Linked DNA regions of Homo sapiens: regions 1, 3 and 4 are each linked to region 2. The links are contacts of gene promoters, found by promoter capture Hi-C in blood cells and fetal thymus (Javierre and others, 2016). All regions are on one chromosome and are shown on one strand. Each heading gives the region's core, a stretch centred on a gene start or on the middle of the fragment in contact. The rest is flanking DNA. Distances are from core to core; before and after follow the strand shown.

Evidence for each region. The method cuts DNA at HindIII sites, captures the fragments that hold promoters and counts their contacts. A CHiCAGO score of 5 or more calls a contact.
Region 1: a contact is called between a fragment that was not itself captured here and the fragment with the promoter of NTS in region 2, in 2 of 17 cell types (erythroblasts and megakaryocytes). The highest score is 6.5, in erythroblasts.
Region 3: a fragment that was not itself captured here is called in contact with the fragment with the promoter of NTS in region 2 in 6 of 17 cell types (erythroblasts, M0 macrophages, megakaryocytes and 3 more); the score reaches 8.5 in erythroblasts.
Region 4: a contact is called between a fragment that was not itself captured here and the fragment with the promoter of NTS in region 2, in 2 of 17 cell types (erythroblasts and megakaryocytes). The highest score is 6.6, in erythroblasts.

What each region holds. Positions count from the first base shown.
Region 1 is chr12:85,530,702-85,533,401 of GRCh38, forward strand. No RefSeq gene overlaps it. Among named protein-coding and RNA genes, the nearest start is that of LINC02820, 210 kb to the left of the region's middle. RefSeq lists an enhancer at 914-973. The HindIII fragment of the contact is 3,569 bases long and covers 1-2,700 here.
Region 2 is chr12:85,872,890-85,875,589 of GRCh38, forward strand. NTS (neurotensin) reads left to right here and starts at 1,406. Exons shown (of 4, transcript NM_006183.5): 1 at 1,406-1,587. The coding sequence starts at 1,515. The HindIII fragment of the contact is 11,906 bases long and covers 1-2,700 here.
Region 3 is chr12:85,548,526-85,551,225 of GRCh38, forward strand. No RefSeq gene overlaps it. Among named protein-coding and RNA genes, the nearest start is that of LINC02820, 230 kb to the left of the region's middle. The HindIII fragment of the contact is 1,768 bases long and covers 385-2,152 here.
Region 4 is chr12:85,589,345-85,592,044 of GRCh38, forward strand. No RefSeq gene overlaps it. Among named protein-coding and RNA genes, the nearest start is that of RASSF9, 250 kb to the right of the region's middle. The HindIII fragment of the contact is 382 bases long and covers 1,216-1,597 here.

The DNA.
Region 1 (2,700 bases), core at 41-2,540, 340 kb before region 2:
CGCTTGTTGCCGTCTGGGGCCCCAGGGGCTCCGAGTGGCATAGTGTGGAAGTCACTAAGCATGTTCTTCGGCCTTTTTCTATTTATTTTATTGTATCCTTTTTGAAATTTATTTCAGACCCATCCATGAAAGTCAGTCTCCTTCTTCAGGGAATGTCCTTTCAAAAGGCAAAGTTGGCCTCTACATAAAAAATAATAAATTCTAATATTAAAGACATTTAATGGAAATATTAGATGATATTTCCCTTAATGTTTCTTTATCATGATTGGTATGATTAATTCATGGTTTCTATTAATTTTGATTAGATATGTAACACTGGACTTAGTTCTTTATTCTTGCTATATGTTTTGAGTGAATAAAAATTCTTAGTGGCATGTAAGATGTCATACTTCATGTGCATATGATCATATAATGTAGAAACATATATGTATAAGCACAGTTAACTGTGAGCTCTATAGGGCAATAAGTATTTAAGAAAGCATTCTTTCTTAAATACTGTAGATAGATTTTCTGTGTTGAAATGTTGGAGAAAAGTTTTTCACCTCTCTGTGCTTACTTTCCTCATCTACAAAATAGAGACAACAGTACATACTTAAGAGAATTAATAGGCAGGTACAAATGAAATATCACATGTAACTCAGCACTTCACTGGAACAGAGTAAGGGTTCTATAAACGCTTGTTAGTAGTATTACAAACATAAAAAATATTATGTGTAATGAAGGCTACAGGATGAGAGGTCTTGTTTAAGAAAAGTTTCTGAAGAGGCAAACAGCTGAAACTGAAAACTGATGAATGATTATCTAATATGCAATAAGCTCTGAACTGTCTTTGACTGCCTGGCTGTTTTCACTTTCTATTCATGCTTAGACACACAGAGGTAATATTCTATCCTGGGTTGCACACAATAGAGAAGGGAAAGCAATGTAATACTGTTAAACTCTGAAGGCTGAGATTAAACAGGAGCATATTTTACTTCCTGGGAATAAGAAAAAGAAATTGTATTTTCTTTCACATTTCATATGGGAAATTGATTGCTTAAGTTTGACATTTCCTTTAATTGAAACACTTTGTTGAATTACTTCTAAGTCTCCATTAAAAGTGGTGTAAGTAGTATGAAATCACTCACTCTCTAGTATATCAGTGTTTGATATTTCATTACACCTAGTATTACCCTCATATTATCTTATTCTTCTTTCTCACGTCATTACCTTTGAAGAAAGATCAATTGACAATATATTGCTTTAAAATTATGTCATAGGCATATTGAGTCTAATGCTTAACACCCATGTCTAATATTTTGTTCAGTTGTTAAAAAAGTTGATCCCTTTATTTAATTGTCCATAAAGAAGATGGGAAGAGTTTGCTGTTCTCTGTGAAACAACAAATACCCTCTACCCATTCCGAGTGCCCCATACACACTTTATTTATAGTAACCAATGTGGTTGTTATTCAAGGCTTATTCCAATGCGTATGGGGATCTATACTCCTCTTTATGCCTAACTCTACCAAAGTTACCTGCAGTAACACTGGTAGTGAAAAACTCAGGAGCCTCCAAAAACACAACTGCATTTGGTAAGAGACCAGAGTAGCAACTTCCTAGGCCTGTCCACCCATCTCATAGCCTGCTGGAGAATGGTCTGGTGCTGTTGCCTCCGGACATTCACTCAACTCTTCTAGCCCTTCTCCTTCCTAGCTTGCCAGCCCAGCTACCACTTATTAGAAGGAAATAAGAGGATTTGGTGAACAAATAGTCAATAAAAATTGACTATTTCTGCAGATAGCAATGGGATCTGGGTTAGTGGATTAAGGGTATTTAATGGAATAACTTAATCTTTTTAATGTTCAAAATCCAGTTCTTACTGTTCTCTAACAACAACTGTGTTCAGTATTTTGGCTTTATATTTTGACTCAAGGCTTGCTTATAAAATATATATTACAAAATACATATATAAAGCAACACTGATAATACCCATTTTTTCAATAAATTATTGAATTTTTTAAATAGATACATTTTTTCATAGATAAATTGTGTCTCAAAATATATTAAGCCAGATCTTGTATCTTTGTTTAAAATGTTTCAATGCTTTATCTTCTCGGTCATAGTTAAAGCTAAAGCTGGTATGCCCACTATGCCCACTGCCCAATGTTGCTGTTTAACAAATAATCCCAAAGTTTAGTGGTCTAAAACAAAACAACTTCATATTCTTTGATATAGAAATCCAATCAGGGCACAGTAGGGATAATTTATTTCTGTTTCTCAATGTTTGGAGCCTTAGCTGGGAATACTTATATAGTTGTTGTCATCATGGATGTATGAAATTATTTAGAAAGATTTTAATCCACATTTCTAGTATCTGGGTTAGGTTGGGCTCAGCTTGCATTGTTGACCAGAGCCCCTACATATGGCCTGACCATGTAGCTTGTGCTCCCTGGAAACATGGTAACGAGTTTGTAAGAGGAAGTGTATCTAAAGGAATCATCTGGAAGTGAGCATACCAAAAAATCCAGGGACAAGCTGCATTTCTTTTATGACTTAGCTTTGGAAGAAATAGTGCATCATTTTCTTCACACTCTATTGGTCAAAGCAGACACATGCCAGCATCTATTCAAGAGGAAGGGACAGAGACAGCACTTCTCCATGGGAAGAATGTCAACTTTTTTTTTTTTTTTTTTTTTGACACCAAACCTCACTCTGTTGC
Region 2 (2,700 bases), core at 156-2,655:
TTCTAAGTAATTATTAAATGTTTGGATTTAATCGCTTTGCTTAAGTTTTGGGTAAAGGTGAAAAAGTTAAACTCATAGATTGTATAATATAAATCAATTATCTATAGGAACCAATCCTATTTTTTCTCAACTGTTACTACATGATTGATTTATTTAAAAATTAAACAAGACTCAGACAACTTTACATTCAAATATTCACATCTCTAACAGCACTGACTTGTCAAATTACCCCATGTATCTTGAAATGCTTACTACAAGAAGAAAGTTTTACTCTAAAAGGCATTTTGAACAATTTTCTTTTGAGAACTCAGACAAAGAATGGGTATCAGTGTAACTCATGAAATACATGAAGACTATCATAGAAAAGTGACTTTGGTGAATGGTGGTTATTTAGGATTGTCTCCTTTCCAAAAGTACAATCTCTTTTTTTATGGTGAAAAGAGTATTATAACAGGGAAAGAAAGCCGATGCAATAGTAAAAACTGTTGAGAAGGGAATTATACAAAGAGTGAGACATGGCATCAAGAATGAATTCAAAAAGAGCAGAAAAATATAGGCATAAAAAGAGATAATGTACAGAAAAAAAGTCAGTGATACAACAACACAAATTTTTACCTGCTAGAATGTAAGTAATTTAGAGCTGGATTTTATAAACATGAAATTGTTTTTCTAATACATTCAACCAAAAGTCAGCACACATAGTTCAGTCATCTCTCATTACTTACAATAAAATATTTTCTATTTGTTAGGAAATAATATCTTATTCCCTGGATCTATTATTTCTTTTTATTGATTTTCTTTCTATTCTCTAAACTTAATTGCTTAATTTTTATAACTGATTCTCTGTCTCTATTCCATCTTATTCCAGCATGGATTATTTAAAACCTGTATTAGTTTTGGAACCACTAAACATTTGCTCAGAAGTTTGAATTACCAGAGAAGCACCCTAACTCTTCAAGAACTTCCAAGCCTAAGGAATCACTGATTTCATGCATTCATCCTGGAGATTTTCCTTAAAAATTAGAAATAACAGATCTCATGTTTCACAAAATCAAAATGACAACTTTTGGAGTGGGGGAATGAGAAGTGGGAAAAGGATGATACTGGGGGTTCTTTGTCAGTATGCTGTATGTATGCTGTATGTCAGTGCAGTTGAATGACTCCTTCTGTGCGTCAGAAATCCAAAGCAGCAGCAGCAGCAATTAGGGAAGATCGTCACTTTCACTCAAGGTTCAGAAATGGGGGAGGAGAGCAGGGGGGACAAAGGAAAAGGGGAGGAGAAAGCAGGGCAAAGAGGGGAGGGATGGAGGTGAAGATAGGGCACATCCTGCAAAGATAATGTCTGTACAATCAATGACATCATCCTCCTGCTTATATATATAGGGGAATGGCCAGAGCACCTCTCATAGTTCACTCACTTTCAAAGCCAGCTGAAGGAAAGAGGAAGTGCTAGAGAGAGCCCCCTTCAGTGTGCTTCTGACTTTTACGGACTTGGCTTGTTAGAAGGCTGAAAGATGATGGCAGGAATGAAAATCCAGCTTGTATGCATGCTACTCCTGGCTTTCAGCTCCTGGAGTCTGTGCTCAGGTAAGCAAAACAGAATTTCACAACTCCCTGAAGTGATTTCTTTTTTCTCTTTTGCAGTGTGTTGCTACTTATGTTAATGTATCTGGGGAGAAGAGTTGCTCCCTTTTATTCAGGATTTACCTTTTAGTGACAGAAACTGAGTATCTCTTTCTCTGCCTTTATGATTACTGAGAGATGTATTTTCTCTTTTAAAATCTGCAAAGCAATAAAAGGGATTTCAATGAAACACTGCACGACCTCCTTTGGAATTCAACAACTAGAGGGAAAAAAACCCTACAAAACTTTCAATTAGGCTGATCATTATCTAATGAGAAATACAGAGGCAGTGGCTGTCAACCTGCAAACCCATCATTAAATCCCATTCCATTCAAAATGTTTTACTCTCATCCTCATTCATTCTCTTAGGAAGCGGTGGCCCTCACGCCCTTGTAATAGTCCCCGTATTATTTTCTTGTTTGTGTTAAGATAACAAATAAAGTGAAAATTGATACTTAGTGAAAAATGAAGCATTATTTGTAGAAAATTATTTCTAGAAAAATACAAAAATATTCCAGATCCTTTTTGAGAACAGAATTTGCATAGTCTAATAAGTGTGCTATTAATATAACTGTTTGGCATTTTTTCCATGCCATTTAAGTTAATACAAAATACAATTGGAAAATTGGTATTCTTATATTGATGGAAATTATTTGACTTTAGAGTGTTTTGCATGTGGTTTGAAAGAAGTTATATAGTCCTAAGTATCTACGAATAACTCACTTTGAAAATAAGACTTAAATTGAAAGGTATAACATGAAATATTACAACCATTGCAAAAGGCTCTACTTAATATTTAAGAAATATTACAATGAACACTTCAAAGGGAAAAGAACACATTAGGAAGCAAATGCAGCAAAAATAATTTAACCTGTTCTGTGCTTTTATGTATCATAAATATGACATGGAAATGTTTAACTCAAACTCATGCTATCATTTGATTTAAATTATGAAATTAAAATCTAAGAAGATATAAATGTGATTTATACAAAATTTTAAATTTATTTTAATCATCAGAACATAACTTTCAGCTTCTACTTTTTAAATCTTATGAGAAAAAACAAACTTTTCTATAAT
Region 3 (2,700 bases), core at 19-2,518, 320 kb before region 2:
ATACTCTCTCAGATTATAGTAAGTCTATAAATATAATAGATGTAATACATTATACATTATGGCACTTTCTATCCACAGCAGGTAAAAAATCTAGCCCTTGAGAGATTAGCAACATTTACCAAATAAGATAAAATAGCATTTATTTAACACTAAGTGTACAGGATGTTAAAGTTACTCTTGCTATAGATAAATGATGAAAAACTCTTTATGGATACAGAATACATGTTAATATTTAAACAATTGAGGAAGCTGTTTTCAGCTTGTACTCCAAGAAGGAAAAGTAGTTTTTTTCCACAAAAACAGCTTGAAAATATCCCTAGTCGTTGCGAAACTGCCTACAAATACAATGGAAAGGAAAATATAGACCCTTTACAAGGAAGCCCAAGCTTAGTTTAAAAAGAGAGACAGTAAGCCATCAGCAAATTTAGCCATTTTTGTTAATCAGCAAATCAGCAAATCAGCAAAACTGAGGCCTGATATTTTGCAGAGCCTGCTGGAGGAAGTCAACAACTCCCACAGAAATCAACTAATAAAAATTCAAAAACAAAGACTGCATGAGGTGAGCATTAAAACTTCCCATGTTTAGCAAAAAGAGTTCTGAAATAACAAATAGCATCCCAACCAGGTAGTTTAGAGCAAGGTAATGTGGTACTTTCTAAAGACAATCCATTTAATAAGAAAAATGCAAAGTGTACAAAAAGAATTACAACAGTTTTTCCTCTGATAGAAATGAGGTTGGCATTATAATCCCTCCATATATTATTGTACTTTATAGTCTGTCATATATATATGCTTTAATTTCAAAGTCAATTTTATTCACTTTCAAGAAACACTTTAGTCACCTTCATAAACCCCCACGTTTAAAAAAAAATTTAAAAAAAAGGCTCTAGATGTCAAAAACATACAGGCGCGTGGATGGATTGAATGACCACAGCCAAATTCTAAGATTTGAAGTTCCATTACTTGGAGTGGGTGTAGTTAGGCAAGCATCCCTTTCTTAGACAGTACCATGTCTCTGCCACTTAATTCTCTCCCATATGCTTACAAAAAACATTGTTACATAGTCAGGAGGAGAAGCTATAGAGCTTGGAACCATTAGTTTAGTTCTCTTTCTTCCACCATTGCTGCCTAAGTGCCTGTTCCAATTGTTAACAATATTTGTGAAAAATAAAATGTTGACATCCTTTGCCCCTAAAGCTATATGTCTATTTAACTAAGGTAGCTTTGTACTTTAACCCCAACTAGCTATCTTTAAACATTACATCATTAGTTACAACATAGGTTGAGTGAGAAATCATGAATGGACGTGAGCCATTCATGATCATTAAAGGAAAATCAACTCCAATACAGTCTATATTGCTCTTAGGCAATCTGTATCATGTTTGCGCCCAGAGTTGTGCATTACATTATATGATATCCTTTGCCAAGGACAATTGAAAGTCTTAAACATATAAAGGGTTATTGTACAAAGGATGCTGTTAAGCAGTCAGCCATCTGTATATGAGCTTAAATTTTAGCTGCTGGGATTTAGGATGCTCACGATCATTGCTGTTATTGACAGAACATTCCTGGAGTATGGATCAGCAGACAGGAGATGTTTGAGAACATACTAATGTGGGATTAGGAGCACTGGCACTGAAACAGGTTTCCAAGGGAAACTTGTAGATCTCCTTTCCTGGAACCTTTTGATCGACGCCTTACCATCTGGCATAGCTAAAATCTGTCCTGCCTGAAGCAGAACTGATGATCTAATGTCTAGAGGTCGCTTCCAAGCCTATGACAGAGAACTAAATTCAAGACAATACAAAGAACAAAGCATGGTGTCAAATAAATTGTTCATATTCTTCTTAAGTTCTCAATTCCCTGCAGCAACAGATGAATCTGAACAATAGTTATAGAAATAAAATAAATAATCTCACAATTAACTAGGGTGTACATTGCATTGTGACTATTATGTTTATCATTTAATCATAATTTAAGCTAGATATCACAAAAGGAGAAACAGACCTGGTAGTGAAAACCTTATTATACTGATTAGAATGTCTTTCTATGAGGTATTGTGGAATGATGGTGATGATTTTACAAGCTAAATTACTAGGTTTGAGGAGTTCCAGGCACGTGTAAGAGTAAGTGCACTAGACTTCCCTAATAAAGCTTTCTTTTTCTTGTATTTTAACACAAGGGTCTGGTTCTGCACTATCTTGGCCTCACGTTTCACACACTATAGAAACTTTTCACAGCAGCCCTATTAAAGAAGTGCTTAAACCCCAAGCTTTGTTTTCCCACTGCTTTTACCTTAAATTAGATCTTTCATTGTTTTCTTTCCTTTTGAATACATTCATCCAGTGATTATTTGATCACCTTGGAAGAACATTATACTGTCTGAAAGATATGTACCATGCTGACTTCACTTACGCCATATTGCACTCACTCTGCAAGCTCTTCAACAAGACATGCTATGAAATCACCTACTCTCTCTCACTGTTTCAAACAGACCTTTGCCACTGCAGATCAAGACTTTTAAAGTTCACTTCCTGACTTGCAGCAGCTCTTTGAATGTTTTCCAAGCTTGCAAGCATGCTGTTGTAAAGTAAAAGTGAAGCTTTTAAAGTTTGCACAGCAGCAGGGATTCACTCCTTTAATGGAGAAAATTCAAATTTGCAATCCCAAACTGGCAACTTGGGGTGTCACATTTCCCAC
Region 4 (2,700 bases), core at 157-2,656, 280 kb before region 2:
CTCTGTTAAGATCTAGAGCCTTTAAGGAGGTAATTAAGGTTAAAGGAGGTCATATAGGTGGGCCCCTAATCTGATAGAACAGAGATTCTTAGGAGAAGCAGAAGGAACACCAGAGATCTCTCTCTTCGGCACACACAAAGAGGAAAGGTAATGTGAAGGCACAGCAAGAAAGCTGCCACATAAAGGCCAGGAAGAGGGGGTCTTCCCAGAAACCAAATTTGTTGGCACCTTGATCTTGGACTTTTAGCCTTTAGAACTGTGAGAAAATAAATGTTTGTTTAAGCCACCTAGTCTAGAGCATTTTGTTATTGCAGCCCTAGCAGACTAATACACACATACCATTACATTTTATTTCACAAACACACTGGAAGTACAGCCCTTATTTTAAATTTACAAAATTTAGCATAGATATATATACTTAACTAAAACAAATAAGTACATAAAATAAGTTCATTATTTGCAAATTTTTAACATATTTTTAAGTTAAATGATTAGTTTCTTTGATGAATCTCTGGTTCTTGCTGCTATGGACATATTTTCTATTATATTATTTTAAAGTTTTATATATATATATATATAGCATACAAATATTTTCCCTCCTTTTGCCAATATCTTTGCAAAATTATTAAGGCAGAGCATCCAGGAGCAAGATAATTAAGGTTTATTAAGTATCTGCTATAACTGATAAATATTTTGCTTTAGAAATACAACAATTTATTACATACTAGGGAAATTATTACCTTTTACTCATTAGCAAAAAAATTTACGTATCTTTCTCATCTACCAATCAATCTAAAACTGACTCAGTATATGTCTGTGGATGATATATAATACAATTACCCATAGTAAGTGGGCCCTGATTCTACCTATTCCCTGTAGTGTTTACAATGGGCGTCTGAGTACATTGAATATACAACACATGATTTTCAAACTGAATTTAAAATCCTAATTAAGATAAATACTAATCAGGAGTAATTTCAACTTTGCATTATTTATCAGAATTGATAAGAAGAGACTCTTTGGGTAATGGTAATAATGATCCTCTCTCCAAAATAGGATTTTTAGTTACCAGGAAGATGGCTTTACAGATTGAAACAAATATTGCTATATCTGTTAATATTCTTTTTTTTTCAATCATTCAAAAAGTAGCTCTTTGAAAGTTGATGTCTGTTCATGTGTTTACATGTCTTATCTCAACTGTTATTTCCTTAGGGAAGCTTTTCCTAATTTATCACACTACATATATTTTCCTCTTTCATAGCCCAATACAATGTCATTTCTTTACAATACTCTGTGTGCTGATGCTTAATTTATTGTTTTAATTATTTGTTTACTTATAATCTCAATTGTGAAATACATGAGAGCTGGCACCATGTCTGTTCAGTGTGTATATATATACATATATATGTATATATATTGTATATATTGTTATACATATATACATGTATATATACAATGTATGTATATATTGATATACATATATATCAATATATCTAAATCTTATAGATCTACCTTCATCTATATCTATAGCTCTCTATGTGTATATACACACGTAATTTACTTCTAACTGTTATCCAAGGACTTTGACAAAGTGGAAAGCTTTGAATATTTGCATCTAGCCAAAAACATCCTTCAATAATGTAAACCACTAGTATCAGAACTGGTCAGAACCAGAACTTGAAAGGCTCTAAAACAGATAGCATTGAAAGACTAGATCCTAAGAGTCATCAGCATATATATAAATGGTAATTCAAATAATGCATGTATATGAGACCACCTAGGAAGAAAGAACAACGTAAAACAAAGCAACAGAGCATAGTTGTTAAAAACAAGGCCACTGCAATCAGAATATCTAGACTCAAATCCTGACTCTACCACCAACTAGTTATATAAAACTAGTGAAGTTGGGGTTAATTTGGGGCAAATGATTGTACATTGATCACAGAATACTTGCAAGGATTAAATGTAATAACTAAGAGTAAGCATTCTACATATATTGACTCTTATTAGACTGTAAGAAAAAACAAAAAACTAGCACTAATTCCTTAAGGACTCCAAAACTGAAAGACAGAGAAAAGTGGAGAAGTTTTTACCTCTTATACAGTGAGAGGTAAGAGGTAAAACTTGAATAAATGATGCTAAGGAAGACAAATAAGGAGAGTGAATCTAGAGGGTATGTCTCTTAGCTCTTTGATGTCTTTCCAAGATTTACCCTCCAACCTCGAACAACTAAATCCAGACAAACTATACAAAAACAAAAAAATGCCAGTTTTCAAGATACTGGAGATGAAACGAGAAAGGATAGTGATCCCTGTAAAGATGAAAAACAAATATAATAAGCCCTACCATGGTCCCCGCCTACTGTTTTCAAAAAGATTCCAGACCAGTGAAAGGATAGGGAAGTCAAATAGATACCTACAGATTCCCTGGGATGAGGAGACAGGGCAAGAGTCTGAGAAGATCAAGGTGGCTAGAATCACAGAACAGAGTAGCAAGGAAAAGAGAGCTGCACACAGAGAAAAGCCTAAAGATCTGCAGAGGCCTCCCTTGAATAGGGAGCAAAATATTCATCAGCATTTGCCAGTGAGAAAATTAGCAGAAGCTGGGGAATGATTCGCATCTTTTCTCATCAGCCAGACTGCGAAACCTCGTAAATCATGGAGCACTATAAAGAGTACTTAGAAATCTCTCTCCTGAATA